3 separate regions of the Homo sapiens genome follow, and all the other regions are linked to region 3. Evidence: promoter capture Hi-C in human tissues and cell types (Jung and others, 2019). All regions are on one chromosome and are shown on one strand. Each heading gives the region's core, a stretch centred on a gene start or on the middle of the fragment in contact. The rest is flanking DNA. Distances are from core to core; before and after follow the strand shown.

The links. The method cuts DNA at HindIII sites, captures the fragments that hold promoters and counts their contacts. A contact is called where the count stands out against the background at its distance.
Region 1: a fragment that was not itself captured here is called in contact with the fragment with the promoter of PURB in region 3 in 1 of the 25 tissues and cell types used here (spleen).
Region 2: a fragment that was not itself captured here is called in contact with the fragment with the promoter of PURB in region 3 in 1 of the 25 tissues and cell types used here (heart left ventricle).

Annotation. Positions count from the first base shown.
Region 1 is chr7:44,510,841-44,514,951 of GRCh38, reverse strand. It overlaps NPC1L1 (NPC1 like intracellular cholesterol transporter 1), which reads left to right. Exons shown (of 19, transcript NM_001101648.2): 19 at 1,303-2,417. The coding sequence ends at 1,505. It also overlaps the pseudogene RPL36AP27. Among named protein-coding and RNA genes, the nearest start is that of NUDCD3, 22 kb to the right of the region's middle. The HindIII fragment of the contact is 7,316 bases long and covers 1-4,111 here.
Region 2 is chr7:45,195,001-45,199,193 of GRCh38, reverse strand. No RefSeq gene overlaps it. Among named protein-coding and RNA genes, the nearest start is that of RAMP3, 39 kb to the right of the region's middle. The HindIII fragment of the contact is 6,228 bases long and covers 1-4,193 here.
Region 3 is chr7:44,884,057-44,887,984 of GRCh38, reverse strand. PURB (purine rich element binding protein B) reads left to right here and starts at 2,455. Exons shown (of 1, transcript NM_033224.5): 1 at 2,455-3,928. The coding sequence starts at 2,637. The coding sequence ends at 3,575. RefSeq lists enhancers at 329-428, 2,026-2,275, 2,424-3,383 and silencers at 2,266-2,625, 2,916-2,965. The HindIII fragment of the contact is 10,196 bases long and covers 1-3,928 here.

The DNA of each region.
Region 1 (4,111 bases), core at 29-2,528, 370 kb after region 3:
AACCTCTGCCTCCCAAGTTCAAGCCATTCTCCTGCTTTAGCCTCCCAAGTAGCTGGGATTACAGGTGCGCACCACCACGCCTGGCCAATTTATTTATTTATTTTTTATTTTTAGTAGAGACGGGGTTTCACCATGTTGGGCAGGCTGGTCTCGAACTCCTGACCTCAGGTGATCCAACCGCCAAGGCCTCCCAAAGTGCTGGGATTACAGGCGTGAGCCACTGTGCCCAGCCCTATCATTAATTTGTTTTTAATTATTTTAATTATTTTTATTTTTATTATTTTTAGACAGAGTCTCTCTCTGTTGCCCAGGCTGGAGTGCAGTGGCGCAATCTCAGCTCACTGCAACCTCTGCCTCCTGGGTTCAAGCGATTCTCCTGTCTCAGCCTCTCGAGTAGCTGGGATATCGGTGTATGCCACCATACCTGGCTAATTTTTGTATTTTTATTGGAGACAGGTTTCACCATGTTGGTCAGGCTGGTCTCGAACTCCTGTGGCCTCAGGTGATCCATCTGCCTTGGCCTCCCAAAGTGCAGGGATTACAGGCGTGGGCCACCGCACCCGGTCTCATTAATATTTTGAAATGCTGGCCAGGAGTGGTGGCTCATGTTTGTAATCCTAGCACTTTGGGAGGCTGAGGCACATGGAAGCTCAAATTGAGCCTCCCAGGATGAAGGTGTTTCTGGCTCTCAGGGTGGGCAAGCTGGGAGGAGTTCAATTTTACCTCCCACCAGATGGTAATAATATTATTAGAGGACATTTATAGAGGGGTGTGTTTGTGCATCAACATATGTGTCTGTAATTCTCTTACTACCCCCGAGGCAGGTATTATTATCCTTCCCATTTTACAGATGAGGGAACTGAGACACCTGCCCCAGGTTACAGACTTGGTCAAAGGTAGTAGGGGTTGGAGCCCACACAGCTCTGTGGTTCCTAACCATGTCTCTTGTGGGGACTCCCTGACCCTCTTGGAAGGAGTAGAGTGTGTGCGCTGGGGGTGGTGGATGAGACATAAGAGAGGGGCAAGGAGGAGCAGTCGTGGGGTGTGCTTGGACAAAGGATATCCAGGGCCTTGGAGCTGCAGGTGGTGGCTATTCCTTGGAGGTTCCCAAAATGCTTGGGGGATGGAGGGACCAGGACATCCCTGAAGCTTGGGCTGTGAACATAGTGACCCTGGAAGGCACATGGCACAGATCCCCCCTGGGACCCTTCCTGCCCTGGGTTTGTTGTACAGAACCAGGAATAGCTTCTCACCTGTGTCCCCTGCCCACCTCTCTGACTGTGGTTCTCTGTCTCTCCGCAGGGCCTGACGTTAACCCGGCTCTGGCACTGGAGCAGAAGCGGGCTGAGGAGGCGGTGGCAGCAGTCATGGTGGCCTCTTGCCCAAATCACCCCTCCCGAGTCTCCACAGCTGACAACATCTATGTCAACCACAGCTTTGAAGGTTCTATCAAAGGTGCTGGTGCCATCAGCAACTTCTTGCCCAACAATGGGCGGCAGTTCTGATACAGCCAGAGGCCCTGTCTAGGCTCTATGGCCCTGAACCAAAGGGTTATGGGGATCTTCCTTGTGACTGCCCCTTGACACACGCCCTCCTCAAATCCTAGGGGAGGCCATTCCCATGAGACTGCCTGTCACTGGAGGATGGCCTGCTCTTGAGGTATCCAGGCAGCACCACTGATGGCTCCTCTGCTCCCATAGTGGGTCCCCAGTTTCCAAGTCACCTAGGCCTTGGGCAGTGCCTCCTCCTGGGCCTGGGTCTGGAAGTTGGCAGGAACAGACACACTCCATGTTTGTCCCACACTCACTCACTTTCCTAGGAGCCCACTTCTCATCCAACTTTTCCCTTCTCAGTTCCTCTCTCGAAAGTCTTAATTCTGTGTCAGTAAGTCTTTAACACGTAGCAGTGTCCCTGAGAACACAGACAATGACCACTACCCTGGGTGTGATATCACAGGAGGCCAGAGAGAGGCAAAGGCTCAGGCCAAGAGCCAACGCTGTGGGAGGCCGGTCGGCAGCCACTCCCTCCAGGGCGCACCTGCAGGTCTGCCATCCACGGCCTTTTCTGGCAAGAGAAGGGCCCAGGAAGGATGCTCTCATAAGGCCCAGGAAGGATGCTCTCATAAGCACCTTGGTCATGGATTAGCCCCTCCTGGAAAATGGTGTTGGGTTTGGTCTCCAGCTCCAATACTTATTAAGGCTGTTGCTGCCAGTCAAGGCCACCCAGGAGTCTGAAGGCTGGGAGCTCTTGGGGCTGGGCTGGTCCTCCCATCTTCACCTCGGGCCTGGATCCCAGGCCTCAAACCAGCCCAACCCGAGCTTTTGGACAGCTCTCCAGAAGCATGAACTGCAGTGGAGATGAAGATCCTGGCTCTGTGCTGTGCACATAGGTGTTTAATAAACATTTGTTGGCAGAAATGGTGTTTTATGTCACATGTCCTACCCTGGCTTCCTCCTCTCGGTTTAAGATAATTTTTGTGAATGACACAAATAATACATGTGTGGGAGAGTGATTTGTGGAGATACTAGTCTGTGTTTTGTTCTATTTCTCCTCCCTCTTTTCAAGAAAGTAGCCAGGCCATTGTGTGCTCATGCCTTACAAGGGCCTTTGAGGAGTGGGAGTAATTTCTCTTCAAACTGGGAGGGCACAGAGCCTGAGAGTCAGTCAGGAGTAGGATGTGCAGCCCCTCCTTTTCTGGAAGAGACTGTGAAGTAGGCAACACCTGGAGGAGCTACAGGAGAACCACGGTGCATTCAAGGAGGGAAGAACCCACCGTACAAACAACCAGCTCCCAGGAGGGCCCCAGGCCAGGGCAGTGGGTGGAAATGTCAAGGAACATTCCAGATCCCCTCGAGTCTTTCTGCCCCATGCTGGGTCCAGCCCTTGTTTGGCTGAGGGGCTGCTGTTGCTTTGAGGCTCAGAGGGACTGTCAGCATGTAAAGGGAAGACAAGCAAAAAGGGGTGGAAAGGAGCTGGCGTTTCTGGAGCCTACTATCTACTTTTGGGTCCTCATAAGAGCCCCATGTGCCAGCATCATTAGCCCACCTTTGGGAGGGTTGCTGGCTGACCATGATGGACAGGAGGTTTGGTGAAGGGACAGCTACGAGGGAATAGAGGCTGAGGAGAAATCGCACAATTCACCCTGTTAAAAACTCCACAGGTGCAGAATAAACAGATAGATTTGAGGAACAAAATAGCTTTTGACAGCAGACATTTCAAATCAGAGGAAAGGGTAGATCCTTCAGTAAACGGTGTGAGAGTAGTGAGCAAATTATTTGGATCAAAATAAAGTTATATCTATACTTCACACAATACACAAAATAAAAGTACAGACAGATTAAAGCACTAAACACAAAAATGAAACTATACAACTATCGGAAGGAAACACAGAAGAGTATGTTATAATCTTGGAGGGGGAAAAGTTTCCTAAGCACAAAGTCCAGAAGCCATAAAGGTAAACACTAAGGTATGACCATATAATAATGGAAAACATCTGAAAACACACAAAAAATTAAAGAAAGTTGAAAGACACATATGAGCTCAGAAAAATAGTTGCAACATATTTAACAGCAAATAAAATCAAGAAAACACAAAGAGTGCCAATAGTGCTCCTGCAAACATGGTGAACACTCCTAAAACCCACTGGACTTTCTGTAAGAAGTGTGGGAAGCACCAGCCCCACAGAGTGACACAGGACACATTTCCCTGTATGCCTAGGGAAAGCCATGTTATGACAGGAAGCAGAGGGGCTATGGTGGGGAGACTAAGCCAATTTTCCAGAAAAAGGCTAAAACTACAAAGAAGATTGTGCTAAGTTTTGAGTGCATGAAGCCCAACTGCAGATCTAAGAGAATGCTGGCTATTAAGAGATACAAGCATTTTGAACTGGGAGGAGGTAAGAAGAGCAAGGGCCAAGTGATCCAGTTCTAAGTGTCATCTTTTGTTTTATTATGAAGACAATAAAATATTGAGTTTATGTTTAAAAAAAAAAAGAATATACAAAGAGAGTCCAGGTACGGTGGCTCATGCCTGTAATCCCAGCACTTTGGGAGGCTGAGGCAGGAGAATTGCTTGAGGCCAGGAGTTCAAGACCAGCCTAGGCAACATAGCG
Region 2 (4,193 bases), core at 766-3,265, 310 kb before region 3:
GAAAGTCTAGGTGCAAGCCAACGCTTCCCAACTCAAGCTGATTGGAGAATGCAAAGCCAAGTCCAGGGAATGGGGGGGGGCCATGGCCACAGCCAGGGTCCTTGAGTGGCTGCCCAATCCTGGAGAGCTCCACCATGGGGATGGGCCTGCAAGTAATCAGCCATCCACTAGTTCCTACAGGCTGTCTCACCCCGAGGCCTCCTACCCTAAAACCCAATGAAGACGACTCCCTTTTCTGTTAACCATAAGGGCATTCCTTTCTGTTTCTACTTTGCTGAGAGTTTATCATAAATGAATGTTGAGTTTAGTTGCCACATCTGTCTGATATTTATCTGAAATTCTCTGAATGTGGTGACTGACACTGATTGACTTTTAAGATAAAACCAACTTTTCATTCCTGGGATCAAACCCACTTGGTTAAGGTGTATTATCCTTCCTATATATTACTAGATGCAATTTGTTAATATTTTGTTAAAGACTTTCACATCTATGTTCATGAAAAATATTGGTCTATAATTTTCTTTTCTTATAATTTCCTTGTCAGGTTTTGGTATCAAAGTTATGCTGGACCCATAAAGTGAATTTAAAAAAAATTCCTCGGCAGGCCACAGTGGTTCATGCCTGTAATCCCAGCACTTTGGGATGACAAAGCATCCAAAATAATAATAATAATAATAATAATAATAATAATAATAATAATAAGATACAAAAACATTCTTTCCTCTTCTGCTGTATTAGTTAAATAATGGTGTTATTTCTTTCTTAAATGTTTGACAGAATTTACCAGTGAAACCATCTGGCTCTGGAGTTTTCTTTCTAGGAAAACTTTTTATTAATTCGATTTCTTTAATACCGGCACCATTCAGATCTACTATTACTTCTTCTTTTTTTTTGAGACAGAGTCTCACTCTGTCTCCCAGGATGGAGTACAGTGGCGCAATCTCAGTTCACAGCAACCTCCACCTCCCAGATTCAAGAGATTCTCCTGCTTCAGCCTCCCAAGTAGCCGGGACTACAGGTGTACCACCATGACCAGCTAATTTTTGTATTTTTAATAGAGATGGGGTTTCACCATGCTAGCCAGGCTGGTAGGCTGGTCTCAAACTCCTGACCTCAGGTGATCTGCTTGCCTCGGTCTCCCAAAGTGCTGGGACTACAGATCTTTAGATAGAGGGTGTTGAGTGATTATCAAAATCAATATCTTTATCCTTACTAGAGACATAGCAATAAGTAAACAAGGGCTCTTTCTTATATGTCTCTAAAAAGAAGCAAATGTCTTCATACCAAAACACAAATCAGCCCCAGAGATGCTATTAATAATACCAGACAGTCTTGCTGGTCTGGCGTAATGAAGGTAGATCTTTGGATATCAAGAGGCATAGATGTTGCCTTCTAGCAATTCTTTATAAATATTGCATCTCTCAGCTACAAGTGGATAGATCTGGAGCTACAGTCAGTTCAAGATTGCTGGTCAGTCAGGGAGCCATATCCCAGACAGTTGGTCAAGCTTATGTCTTGCAGCCAGTGCAAGACAGTCACACATGGTGAGGACAGTCCCCCTCCTCATGCCAAGAAACCTGCAGACAGGGGAAGTGAGGTCTTAAACATGAGCTGCCTGATTCTCTTTGCTGGGCACCCTGAAAACAAATACCGTCCTTTCTCCCACTGCAAACCTTGATGTGAAAGTTTGGCCTCACTGCACTGGGTGAACAGACCCAGTTCAGTTCAATAACACCTCCAGAACTGGACTCATCATTCTGATCTCATGGAACACTCTCATCATTGGTGGTACTGGCTTCAGTTTATTTAGTGGTTTTGTTCTGTAGTTACTTGCTTTTAAGAATGTACTAAGCTCCACTCAGACCAAAGCCAAGTCCCTGCCGTGGTCATCCAGCCCCCCACAGCCTTCCCCATTTCTTTTTTTTTTTTTCTTTTTTCTTTTTTCTTTTTTCTTTTTTGAGATGCAGTTTTGCTCTTGTTGCCCAGGCTAGAGTGCAACGGTGCAATCTCAGCTCACTGCAACCTCCACCCTCTGGGCTCACGCGATTCTGCCTCAGCCTCTCGAGTACCTGGGATTACAGGCATGCACCACCACACCCAACTAATTTTGTATTTTTAGTAGGGACAGGGTTTCACCATATTGGTCAGGCTGGTCTCGAACTCCTGACCTCAGGTGGTCCACCTGCGTCAGCCTCCCAAACTGCTGGGATTACAGGCATGAGCCACCGCACCTGGCCTCCATTTTTTTAATATTTTAGGTTGATTGTAGTTTTTTGTTTTGTTGTTGTTGTTGTTGTTGTTTTACAAGCCAGAATGTGTGGTCCCTCCTGCTATTGGTCCTTTTCTTGGAAGCTGTATCCAAGAATTTACAATGTCAAGAGGAACAGGAATGCACCTTAGGACCTCACTGTGCACCCAGTTCACAGGGATGTACATTCTTTTAATGGGTCCAGCTGGACGCAAGCCCAACTCCTCAGAGGAAGGGAACCTGCATGGAAAGCCGCGCCTCAATAACCACGATGACAATAACCGAGATGTCCTCCCAGAATCAGCACAACGTGGGCACCCAGTAAATATCACCCAACACAGTGATTGAAACTGACTCAGTTCCACCCACATGGAAACCCAAGAATGAACAGAAGCCAGCCTGAGAAAGTCCTCTTGTGTCATACAGCCCTGCTCACCCCTCCACCTAGTTCCTACCACAGCACAGTTCAGTTATGAGTGGACATCACTGTTTCCCCTGCCGGAAGTGAGCCACTTGCAAATGGTAGACAGGTGGATAAATGACAATGAAGAGGTAGTGGCTTTTTAGGAAAAGTCCTCTCACACTCTTAGATAATACAGCTGAGGGCAGATACCAGCTGGCATATGATAAACCACTACCTTGACCTTCAAGCCATGATCTGACCTTCAGACCCTGCTTCACCATTTGGAGCTGTTTACCAAGGAGCTTAATTCCAGCAGAACATCTTCACAGACAAAACCCCCAGAAACGCTGCATTCTCCCAACAAGTTCAACATTACCTGATCATCAGAGATAGCAGTAAATCCTGTTGGGTCATCCTTACCCAGGGGCCAAGAAGATGACATCTTTATGATTTAAGAGAACTAACCTTAAACCATCTTTTTGTCCCTTTTGTACTTGAATACTTTTTACAATAAATGGTACCTTAGATCCATGACTACTGCTGAATAGGACTTGCTGGAACATTGTTCCTAAACCAAGCTTTGTCCCAGAAAAAAAATCATTTCTGAAAAGCTGCAACACAATAAAACATTCTTCAACATTGTTATAAAATTCTCAAGACCCTTACAAATGCACAAATGGGTTCCGGAAGCTTCAAAACTAGATGCCCTGACTACTTTTATTATGATTCAAAAAATGGTATGAAAATACCGCATTGGAGGTAGTTTTATTTTTGATTAACCCTAGAACAGTCAATCAACCATGTTACCCTAAACAGCACTCTGGAGTCTGAGGACCCACTATTAAATTTAAAGGTACAGATAAATGTCCAAACTATGGATGCCCAAATGTGGAATCTGAAGCTGTTAACATCATCTCTGTCATGTCCCCCTCTCATCATTTTTATTGTTGCAAAGTTAGAAGTAGGGTGAGTCATCTCCCTCCCATTCAGGGGCCATGTCCTCATCTGCAGCACAGACTCTGCGAAGGCATCCAGCAGGTGCTCTCTAATTCTGCTGGTCCTGGCAGAGGGAAGGCATCTCACCCTCCATAGACTGTCCACCCAGACCAGAAGTCATAGCACCCTGTGAGCTCACTGTGGGTCACCTGCCTTTTCACCAGAGCAGTCAACCCTAAGAGGAGGCTGCCGGTCCATTGCGCACACACTAGTCCAGCGGGCTGCAGCCAAGCATTCCAGGCAAAATGACAGCCAACTGACATCCTGAAGGGAGAAAGGATCTCTCAGAAATTGGGCAGCTCTTCTGCCCCCTCCCTCTAAGCCAAGCCCCCAGATTCACCCACTTCAGCCTCCACTCAAGAACAAGGGCCTCAGCCCCTCCTGTCCTGCTGGCTGCATCTCCTCTTCCCAGCCTCGGGCCTCGGCCCCAAGTGAGCTCTGTGCTCTTTAAAGCCCATGGCTTTAAATGTCCACATCCAGCCCAAACCTTCCCAAGGTCCAGACTCAGCGGTCCAACTGCCCTGCTGGCTTCCCTCACTGCCCTAT
Region 3 (3,928 bases), core at 1,206-3,705:
CCTGCTGGCAGCTCCCACACCTAATTACTACTGACCCATGTGGATGCACCCGAATTCACATTTATTGAGCACTCACTGTAATTCAGGCATTACGCTAAACATGTTTCAAGGATTACTGCCCAACAACCCTACAAGGTATTTTTTTTTTTAGTGCAGTTGTCCCCAACATCCTCTTTGATTCGTGTCTTTTCAAAATAATAATAATTACTTTATTGGGGTCTAATTTCTCTATAATAAACTACATTTGAATGAGTTTTGGCAAATCTGTGAAATCACTACCATAAACAAGACACAGAATACATCACCCTTAAAAGTTTCCTTGTATTACCCTTTCCAATCTGTCCCTCCATATTCAGGCCCAGGCAACTACTGATTTGCTCTCTGACACACACACACACAGACACATACACACACACCTTCCTCTTTCATATACTTTTATATAAATGGGGTCATACAAACTGTGTGATCATACTTTCACTTCCCTCGGGTAAATACCTAGAAGTGGAGGCTGGCTGCGGTGGGTCACGCCTGTAATCCTAGCACTTTGGGAGGCCGAGGTGGGTGGATTGCCTGAGCTCAGGTGTTCGAGACCAGCCTGAGCAACACGGTGAAACCCTATCTCTACTAAAATACAAAAAATGAGCTGGGTATGGCTATAGTCCCAGCTACTTAGGAGGCTGAAGCAGGAGAATTGCTTGAACCCAGGAGGCAGAGGTTGCAGTGAGCCAAGATTGTTCCACTGCACCCCAACCTGGGCAACAGAGCAAGACTGCTCAAAAAAAAAAAAAAAGTGGAAATGTTGGGTCTTATTTTATGAAAGGTATATAAGAAACTGCCAAACTGTTTCCCAAAGCATTTATACCATTTTATATCCTTACTAGCAATGTATGAGTTCCAGTTTCTTCACATCCTTCTCAACACTTGATGTTACATTTTTTAATTTTAGCCATTCTAGTTGGTATTTCATTCTGACTTTAATTTATATTTCCCTAATGATGAATAATGTTGAGCACTGTTTCATGTGCTTACTGGCTTTTTTGACGAAGTGTCTGTTAAAATCTTTCACCTTTTATATTGGGTTATCTATTATTTGTGTTCTTTACAAGTCCATTGTTGGATTCACTATCTATGAATAACTACATTTAGGCTGGGTGTGGTGGCTCACATCTGTAATCCCAGCACTTTGGGAGGCTGAGGCGGGCAGATCACCTGAGGTCAGGAGTTCAAGACCAGCCTGGCCAACATTGTGGAACCCCATCTCTACTAAAAATACAAAAATTAGCCGGGTGTGGTGGCGGTTGCCTGTAATCCCAGCTACTCAGGAGGCTGAGGTAGGAGAATTGCTTGAACCCGGGAGGTGGAGGGTGTAATGAGCTAAAATCACGCCACTGCACTCCAGCCTGGGTGACAGAGCAAGACTCAAAAAAAAAAAAAAAAAAATTTAAGGATGAGGACATTTTGGCTTTGGAAAATCAAGTAACTGGTCAAGGTCACAGATTCAAACCCAGTGCAGTTGCAGAGCCTACACTTTTTAACACTATTCCAATTCTGCCTCTTGTTACACCTCAATGCTTACAACAAAAAGACCTCATAGGAATTATTCATTTTATTGATAAAGAAACTAAAGATTGGCAGTCAATTTCCTTAACCACTTTAATATGGCTAACTGTGGGGACAGTTAACTGATCTCTGGATCCCAAATCTAACCTCATCCTAAATCATCTTCTTTCTATATTGTTCCCACAGTGATCTTTCCAAAATGTGAACCTGATCACATACGGTGGCTCCAGACTCTGGGGTAGGCACTAACTCTCCCGCACTGCAAATGGCTTTCCTTGATCTAATCCACCCTCCAGTGTCATCTACGACCATTCTTCAGGCATACACACCCCCAGCTGCTCTGAGCTCCCAGCATCAGGCCCTGGGTGCCTCTGCACTGCCGTCTCCTATGCTGGGTGGCTCTTCTCCAGAGTTGCCAGGCCAACTGCAGTTTGCCCTTCAGAGTCAGCTCATGCCTCCTCTAGGGAACCCCACAGGCTGGTCAGAACCCGCTTCCGAGTGCTCCAAAGGATCTCCCTCCCCCCGGTCGCCAGTGTATAGACTGGAACTCTGTTCCCAGCACACAACCAGCGCGAGCAGGCTGGGGCCTGAGTATGCTCAGCTAACGCCCCGGAAGCGAGAAGGAGGGAAGTGGACGACACCGGAGTCTAAAGTAAAAGTGTCACGGGAAGAGGCGCGTAGACAGACGCAGCGGGCGGCTGAGTCACGCTAAGGCTGGCAAGTCCCCAGGGCTAGAAACCGAGCAGTAACACTAGCCTACTCTCAGCTTGCCGCCCGCCCGGCGCGGCCCCTGACGTCACCCCTCTGCGCCACGCCGCCGCGGCGCTTCCGGCCGCGAGGCCGCGGAGGGCGGGACGGAGTGACTTCACGGGAAATCGCGCGCCGGAAGTGGCTAGGGCTGCACGGAAGTCGCGGGGGCGGGGCGCGGAGGCGATGGGGGGGCGGCGGCGGCCGGCGATGAGCGGCGGGAGCGCGTGAGCGAGCCGGGCGGGCGAGGCTGGGGGGCCCCGGAGCGCGAGCCGGAGGGCGGGGGCGCGAGCGCGGCGGGCGGTGGCGGCGAGGCGGCGGCCTAGAAGATGGCGGACGGCGACAGCGGCAGCGAGCGCGGCGGCGGCGGTGGGCCGTGCGGGTTCCAGCCCGCGTCCCGCGGCGGCGGCGAGCAAGAGACGCAGGAGCTGGCCTCGAAGCGGCTGGACATCCAGAACAAGCGCTTCTACTTAGATGTGAAGCAGAACGCCAAGGGCCGCTTCCTCAAGATCGCCGAGGTGGGCGCGGGCGGTTCCAAGAGCCGCCTCACGCTGTCCATGGCGGTGGCCGCCGAGTTCCGCGACTCGCTGGGCGACTTCATAGAACACTACGCGCAGCTGGGCCCTAGCAGCCCCGAGCAGCTGGCGGCTGGCGCCGAGGAGGGCGGCGGGCCGCGGCGCGCGCTCAAGAGCGAATTCTTGGTGCGTGAGAACCGCAAGTACTACCTGGACCTCAAGGAGAACCAGCGCGGCCGCTTCCTGCGCATCCGCCAAACGGTCAACCGCGGCGGTGGCGGCTTCGGCGCGGGCCCCGGGCCGGGCGGCTTGCAGAGCGGCCAGACCATCGCGCTGCCTGCGCAGGGCCTCATCGAGTTCCGCGACGCGCTGGCGAAGCTCATAGACGACTACGGAGGCGAGGACGACGAGCTGGCAGGCGGCCCGGGAGGCGGCGCCGGGGGCCCAGGGGGCGGCCTGTATGGAGAGCTCCCGGAGGGCACCTCCATCACCGTGGACTCCAAGCGCTTCTTCTTCGATGTGGGCTGCAACAAATACGGGGTGTTTCTGCGAGTGAGCGAGGTGAAGCCGTCCTACCGCAATGCCATCACCGTACCCTTCAAAGCCTGGGGCAAGTTCGGAGGCGCCTTTTGCCGGTATGCGGATGAGATGAAAGAAATCCAGGAACGACAGAGGGATAAGCTTTATGAGCGACGTGGTGGGGGCAGCGGCGGCGGCGAAGAGTCAGAGGGTGAGGAGGTGGATGAGGATTGAAACGGGCAGCTTCCCCTACAGGCCTCCACCCAACCACCATCCCCTTGGCTAGAGAATTCCCTTTCCTGCTCATCCCCAGTGAGCTAGTGGAGAGGGAGCAAGGGAGGCCGCAGAGGGAAAAAACAAAACGTAACACAGTTAAGAGAAATAATCGTAAGAGAACAGTGACGGACAACTTGAGAAAAGCAGTCAAGTTCCAAGGAACTGACAGCAACCTGCAAAGAGGAAAACAGCATCTCCTCACCTGCGTAAAATTGTCTCAGCTTCTGTTGTTTCTCAACTGAGGTTCGTAAACCCATCAGGATAATCCCTGGAGGGAATAGATCCTTGCACATCCAGGGCAAGAAACATGT